Linked DNA regions of Homo sapiens: region 1 is linked to region 2. The links are contacts of gene promoters, found by promoter capture Hi-C in human tissues and cell types (Jung and others, 2019). All regions are on one chromosome and are shown on one strand. Each heading gives the region's core, a stretch centred on a gene start or on the middle of the fragment in contact. The rest is flanking DNA. Distances are from core to core; before and after follow the strand shown. Region 1 holds the start of LOC105375541 (a long non-coding RNA gene). Region 2 holds the start of KEL (Kell metallo-endopeptidase (Kell blood group)).

What was found. The method cuts DNA at HindIII sites, captures the fragments that hold promoters and counts their contacts. A contact is called where the count stands out against the background at its distance.
Region 1: a contact is called between a fragment that was not itself captured here and the fragment with the promoter of KEL in region 2, in 2 of the 25 tissues and cell types used here (spleen and thymus).

What each region holds. Positions count from the first base shown.
Region 1 is chr7:142,813,759-142,817,082 of GRCh38, forward strand. LOC105375541 (a long non-coding RNA gene) reads left to right here and starts at 439. Exons shown (of 2, transcript XR_001745392.2): 1 at 439-2,367; 2 at 2,998-3,324. The HindIII fragment of the contact is 4,106 bases long and covers 1-3,324 here.
Region 2 is chr7:142,960,632-142,964,064 of GRCh38, forward strand. It overlaps KEL (Kell metallo-endopeptidase (Kell blood group)), which reads right to left and starts at 1,732. Exons shown (of 19, transcript NM_000420.3): 1 at 1,573-1,732; 2 at 1,164-1,241; 3 at 729-870; 4 at 297-473. The coding sequence starts at 1,575. RefSeq lists a silencer at 1,496-1,691. The HindIII fragment of the contact is 18,554 bases long and covers 1-3,433 here.

The DNA.
Region 1 (3,324 bases), core at 750-3,249, 150 kb before region 2:
GCAGAAATGCTCAGTTCTGAGGGCAGGAAGCTTCTATGACAGCCAAAGGGATCGCCTGCATAATCTTCATCCCTGGCAGACAGATTTTGAGACCTGGACAGGCATAATTAACTCCTGAACTGATCAAAGTTGGAATCTGCTCCATGTGTCTCTAATGGGCCAACTAGATCTAATTTATCCTCTAAATGCAATATGAGTAATAGGAAACATCACAGAGACTTGGAATCATATGGATTTGGGTTCATTTCACAGCTCTGCTTCTTGCTGGCTTGGGAACTCTCAAGCAAACCCTGATTCTCAATTTTCTTATCTATAAAGTGAAAATAATGATGACAATATCTAAAAATTGTTGAAAGATGCATTTTGCCTGGTGCACTGCAGGCAGGCACTCTTACATATGTTGGCTTTTTTTTTTTTTTTTTTTTTTTTTTTTTTTTGACTCCCTATGTCTGCAGCAAAGATTGGGAGATTTACAATGGCATGGGGTGGAAGGTAGGGGCTGAAGGGATCACGAGCCACAAAAAACACAGTCAAGCCACGAATTCATAATAGTAAGGATTCATAATAGCTAAGCATGGGACTCTGCTAGGTAGCTGCTAAAATGTCATTCTGCTGAAATGGGACAAAAGACCTTCAGATGCCTGGAGGACACCAGCACACCCTTGGAAACTCCTCTTCCCTCTGTCTTTGCCATGCTCTGTATTCTGAAGGATTCATATTCAGAACAATTACTTAGTTTGGGTTGGATGTGGTGGAGCGGTTTGAGATGAAAACCCAGGAAAGAAAGCCGTAAAAGTGGCTGAACAGGGAGAATAAGCTTTAAGCAAATAAAGCATTTGTAACACTTTCCCATTTCATCAGGGCCTAGTGATGTCATATGTTTGTTGTTGTTGCTGATGCTACAGTAACACAATTCCAAGTTAATGTTGGGGTTCTTGCTTCTGACAGTTTTGGCTGTAGCACATTTTTTTGTTTGCATTTGAATACACCATATGTATAGGGGAATGTTTTGTTTTTTATCATTTCAAAATGGAATTAATCCTCTTATAACATTTATTTAAATGATAAATCAAGTGGTAAATATAGTTTGCTTGCAGTGAACATTTGGAACATATGATGAAAAATAGCTATAGCCAACGCAAGAGCAGTTTTCATTGAACAGTTGTTCAATCTCAGTTTTTAATAAATCTGATAATATAATATCTGTGCATGTTAGGATTGCAGAGAGTGAAGCCAAAATAAATATGTGCACACATAGCCTATTCCTCCCTTTCTTTCCATTTCTGTTCTCTTTCCTCTTTGCTTTTGAAATTTTTATTTAGTCCTGAGTGGGGATGGGGTGGAGAGAAAGTGGACAGTGGGTGGTGGGAGATACAGGGAGAAAGAATGAGAATTGCTCTTGTTCTCAAGGGTACCGCATCACGTTTTCCTCTGGCTGGCAGTCTTTAACACCAGCGTATCCTATGAGACCTGACTTCACTCATCAGCTGCATCAGCTCAGTGTCATTACCACATGTAGACAGCAATGTAATCCTCCTTCTTAGAGATGCTGCAGCAGATTGGAGGGTGAAGAGATGTATCAGTCAGATCAGAGTAACCAGCTGGCTCCTGGCTCCTGATCATTGTCACAGCTCAGTAGCTGGAAGCTCCTTCCATATGGCTGATGCCTTTAAAAAAATCTCCTCAATCTCCATCCCCATCTGCAATACTGTTTAGTTATTCAATCATTTAAGTCATTCATGTATTGAAAAGAGGATGGGGATATGATCCCTCTGCTCTGTGGCAGTAGATCTACTAATGGGAGAGTCCTGGCCGCACATCTGGCCTGGGTCTGGAGGTGCCCTACGGAATTGAAAGCTGGCTGGAACTGTCATCTTAACATGTCCTGGTCATCTTAACGTGTCCACCTCTCTGGCAAGCCTCTTTTCAAGTCTTTTTGTTACCATCTTCAGCTTTTTCCCTCCATACTAGATTCTTAATGAATTGCTGCCAACAAGAGAAAGCTTTATACATGAAGAGAATGGCAATAAGAACTAACTCGTCTTTTTAATTTTAAAACTGGTATATATTCCTATATAATAGGAATGGAAGATACTTGCAAAGCCTATTTGTTCCTCTACAGAAGAGTTAAAAATTACCTGGGCTAATGGAAAGAAGGGAGAGTCAGCCAATTAGATGCTCCTGAATGCCCTGAATTGTGACTTACCTCTTCTTATCCACATCCTGATCAAGGAAAGGGATGAGAGAGAGGTGGAGAGAGAAGAAATGGAAATTCAAAAGTTTTGACGGCAGAGGAAAATTGTGCTTATTTCCAGAATGAGACGAACAAGGTCCTGGGTCCCTACATGTCATACTGGCTAGAGACTGGTAAGTAGAAATGACTTGTGGTCAGCAGAATAATGGCTCCCAAGGATGTCCACATTCTAATCCCCAGAATCTGTGCATGTGTTAGATTACATGGCAAAGGGGAATTAAGGTTGAAGATGGAATTAAGGTTTCTAATTGGATGCCCTTAGAACAGGGAGAGTAGTCAGAATTAATCAGGTGTGCCCCATACAATCACAAGCATCTTCAACATGGAAGAAGGAAGCAGAAGAGAGTCAAAGAAAGAGATGTGGACATGGAAGCAGGCAAGAGAGATGCCATGCTGCTGGCCCTGGAGGTAGAAGGGGGCATGAGCTAAGGAATGAAGGTGGCCTCTAGAAGCTAGGAAAGGTAAGGAAATGGGTTCTCTTCTAGAGCCCTCAGGGAAGAATGCAGCCTAGCTGACAGCTTGATTTTAACTCGGTGAAACCTGTGTCAGACTTCAGAGTTACAGAACTGTAAGATAATAAGTTTGTGTTGTTTTAAGCCACTAAGTCTGTAGTAATTTATTAGAGCAGCAGTGGAAAACATACATGGCTCTAGAATGTGTCTTAACAGAGGGACCTGAGGTAGTCTCCAAGAATCCCCAAAGATCTCAGGATAGATCAGGAATAGCCATTTTCTCATTCACAGGGAAACAGATTAACTGAGAGAAGCCATCAAGCCTGAAGAGACATCGTGTTTGAAATGTGTAAGGCACAGTGTACCCGCCGTGGATCAAAACAACCTGAAGGACAGACAGACAGACACACCGAGGATCAGCAGATATCAGTGGGGACAGGTGCTGATGATGGTGCAAATGAGAGTCATGAAGGAAAGTTAAATGATGACCAAAGACCAAGTACCTTCCCCACAATGCTTTGACAAGCGCTTTTATAAGCACCCTGGAATTTAGACACTACCCGGGGAGAAAAGGAAAGGGAGACAAGCATGAATTGTCTGAGAAACCCCTGAATTAAT
Region 2 (3,433 bases), core at 482-2,981:
AGCAAAGAAGATGGAAATTAGATAAAGAAAAAAATGCAGAAAGGGACCAAGAGAAACGGAAGAAGGGTACCCAAGGCAAGGCAACAGGAAACAGTGAGAGATGAGCAAACCCAGGCAGCTCCCGCCATCCTGCCTCTTTTACTCCCCCATCATCTCCAATCATCCACCCGTATAATCCCACCTGGGATGGTGCAAATCAGTTGTTCCACAACTACACAGGGTTTGGAGCAGTCATGGTCATTTTAGGCACAGAGTCACCCACTTGCACAGAGCATCTTCCACCCTGCTTTCCTCACCCAGTATTCTCCGAAGTCGGTTTTTGTTCTTTGTGGCAAGCTCCTGAAAAGAATTATTGGTCTCTTTGGCCCTTCCACAGGCAAAGCTGAAGAAGTCGGTGCAGGGGGCCACACTTGTGTTCCCAGAGGCCAGGTAATGATCCCGGAGATCCAAACACACAGATGTCTCACAGGGGCCTGTGGGGAAAAGCTCAGAGCTGGGAAAGAAGAGGCAAAAAGACAAGGGCTCCCCCAAGGGGCTAGGCAAAGAACATCAGGTGAGTAACTAAGTGGGGAGCTGATGAAAAAGAAATGGTTAGGATGCAGGGAGGAAGAAGAACCATGGGGACCCCAAGGGTCAGGGTGGGCAGAAGCCCCAGGAGCAGGGACTGGGCCTGGGCCCCAGGGCTGGGGGAGGGCTGACTAGGTTAGGGGGTCTGGGATCTTGCTTACGAGGGCCACAGTTCTGGAAGTTGTAGAACAAAAGCACAGAAAAACAAAGGAGCAGGCCCAAAATCAGGATAGCTGTCAGCACCCGCCTGGCCACTGCCCATGGCCTGCTCCCTTCCACGGGCAGCCTCTCTTCTGGAGTGCTCTGTGGGAGGAACCAAGAGGTGAAAGATACAAGATGGGGGTTGAGAGACAGGGATGGGAAGAAGAGGAGAGAGAATGAATCTGTTGGTGCTACAGTCCCTTTATACAGAAATAATTATCCCAATTCTTCCTAAACCCAGCCCTACTTTAACTCCTGGGAGATGAGAAAACAAGGAATGTCAACTGTTTTGGGTGAGGATGAAGCAGACAGTTAGTAGATGAGTGTTTGTGGGATTTTAGAGCCGAGAGTGACAACATCAGTGTATTCCAGACCCAGGAGAGGAGGCCACTTACCTCTTGGCTCCAGAGAGTTCCCATTCCACCTGCCTGGCTGCGTTCCCTCGGCTCTTCCTCACTTTGGTCCCCACCTTCCTGAAGTGAGTGGAGGGAGAAGGAGGAGAGAGAAGCTGGTTCAGGAAATGGTGCATTGAAGAGAGTTTTATCAGGCCATTTTGATACCCTCGCTGCCTGCCCTGCCCCCACACACATATTTTTATCTCGGAGCAGTGTTCCCAGATGGGCTTCAGAACGAACCTGTCCCCTGAATGTGCCATTTCTCGATCCCTCTCCCATTACCTCCCTCTCTCCCCACCTTTCTACTCTGTAAGCCTTACATTCCCTCCCCTCCAGTGGGGGCAGGACTTTTGCACACAGCCACCCTCACCCCTCCCCGCTAAGCCTCTGACTCCAAAAGGGGACTTACCATCTGTCTATCTTCTGTGGCTCCAGAATCCTTCCTGGTTCCACTCTAGGAGCTGATTCGGAGGACTGGGGTCCAGGAAACACCCCCCGCCCCAGTTCCTTGATCCTGGAGAAGGGGCACTTCTGCTGCTCTTTCGCCTTGTCCCCAGACACACAGGACTGGCCTCTGGGTGGAGCCTGCTTATCAGTGGGGGGCACCCAGGCTTCTCCTCCCCCTTTATCTCAGCTTCTCAGGGGAGAAGAGGGAGGGAGTCTTCACTCCCCAAGCAATCTTGCCCTTGGTCTGCTCCTTTTGTCTTGCACTGTGACTCTGCCCATGAAGTTCCTTTATTTCTAAAATATTCTTCCTTCTCTCATTTCTTCTGTATTAAAAAAAATATGAGGCACAGTAAAATTTTAAAGAGTTTATTTAAGTAAGAAGCAATTCATGAATTGGGGAGCACCAGACCGACAAAGGTTTAGTGTTGCGATGACAAAATGTCAGAGGCAAGCATTTATTGGGAAGTTATAGAAGCAAAATGAAACATTATTTGCTTAGTTTGCAGTTACATAATTGCATTTTTTAGGTAACTTTTTGGAAAGTCCCTAGTCACATAATCATATGTTAGTTGGCTGCTTATCATTGGCTGGGGTTAAGTTTTATTTGTTGTAAGCATTTATCAGAAATTGACCCAAGTTAAGTTTAATTTATGTTTGTAGTTTTAGCAAGAATATGGCTATTTTTAAGGTCTTTGGCTTTGTTTGCCTGGGAATTTTTCAGGCCCAGTCTCCATTTTAATTTTGTTTTCACACCTCTCTGATTGGCTTTTCTGGGATTCATCAATTCCCAGGTCAAATGCCACCTTTCCCAGGAGGCCTCCCAGCTCCATGCCCATTCACACTGTTCCCAAGCATGCTTAATTGTTTCTCTCGGTGTTTCATAGCTCTGCTGGCTGCTGGCAAAGTCATGCATTCAAAAGATCACCCAGCTAGGAGACCCTAATCTGCTAATTATTAGCTCTGTGACAATAAACAAGCCACTTAAACTCTGAGGCAGGTAAGCAAGTTTTGTCATCTGGAAAATGAGGGTAATACTTGCCTATGCCTACCTCATAGGATCTCATGCCTTCTACAAAAGAATAAGGCTTTACTGAGCCCCTCTTTCTTTCATTCTGCTTTCTGTTACACTGATAGCTTGCCTCTTCATCTCCTTAGTGATTGAAAACTATGTCATAGCATGTACAGTGTCTGGTTTTCATTCCTGCCCACCCAAGATGCTTTCTAAATGTTAATAGAAATGAATTGCATTCCAAGCCAGAAATCCTCTTTCTCACATCATATTAAGCCCTTACCTGTGGTCTGAGAGAGGCAAGCACATTTCTGGGGGAAGGTGTTTCAACTCTGTCCTTGTTTCCTCATCCCAGGAAAAAAATAATGTAATTTATTAGGTTAGTCTTGCAAATGATCCCCTGGCGATATTTCCAGATTCCATCAGCACTGTGCTAGGGCCATGGTGCACTTGCCAGGATGAGGGTGGGTGTGGAGAAGTGGAGTAAAGCCATTGTGCCCCCTGGGGCCAGCTGGTCGGGTATCATGAAAGTCATAAAGAAAAGTCAGAACTTCATACATTAGAAAAGAAAGCATTGGGAAAAATAAGGCTTTTGAGGAAAGGTGTGGCAAGATACAATAATATCTAAGAAACGCCGGTGTGGTATTGGGGATCTGGACTGATTGGATAAAAGACAAGAAACAGAGTGGTTAGTTTGGTGTTGCAGGAGTGATGAAGGGAGGGCCCGGCCCAAGGGGATGGCAGAGGGGAGGGAAGTGCGTAGAAAGAAAAATTGTATGGAATAAAGTCATGGCAATGGATTGAATGGAGGAGG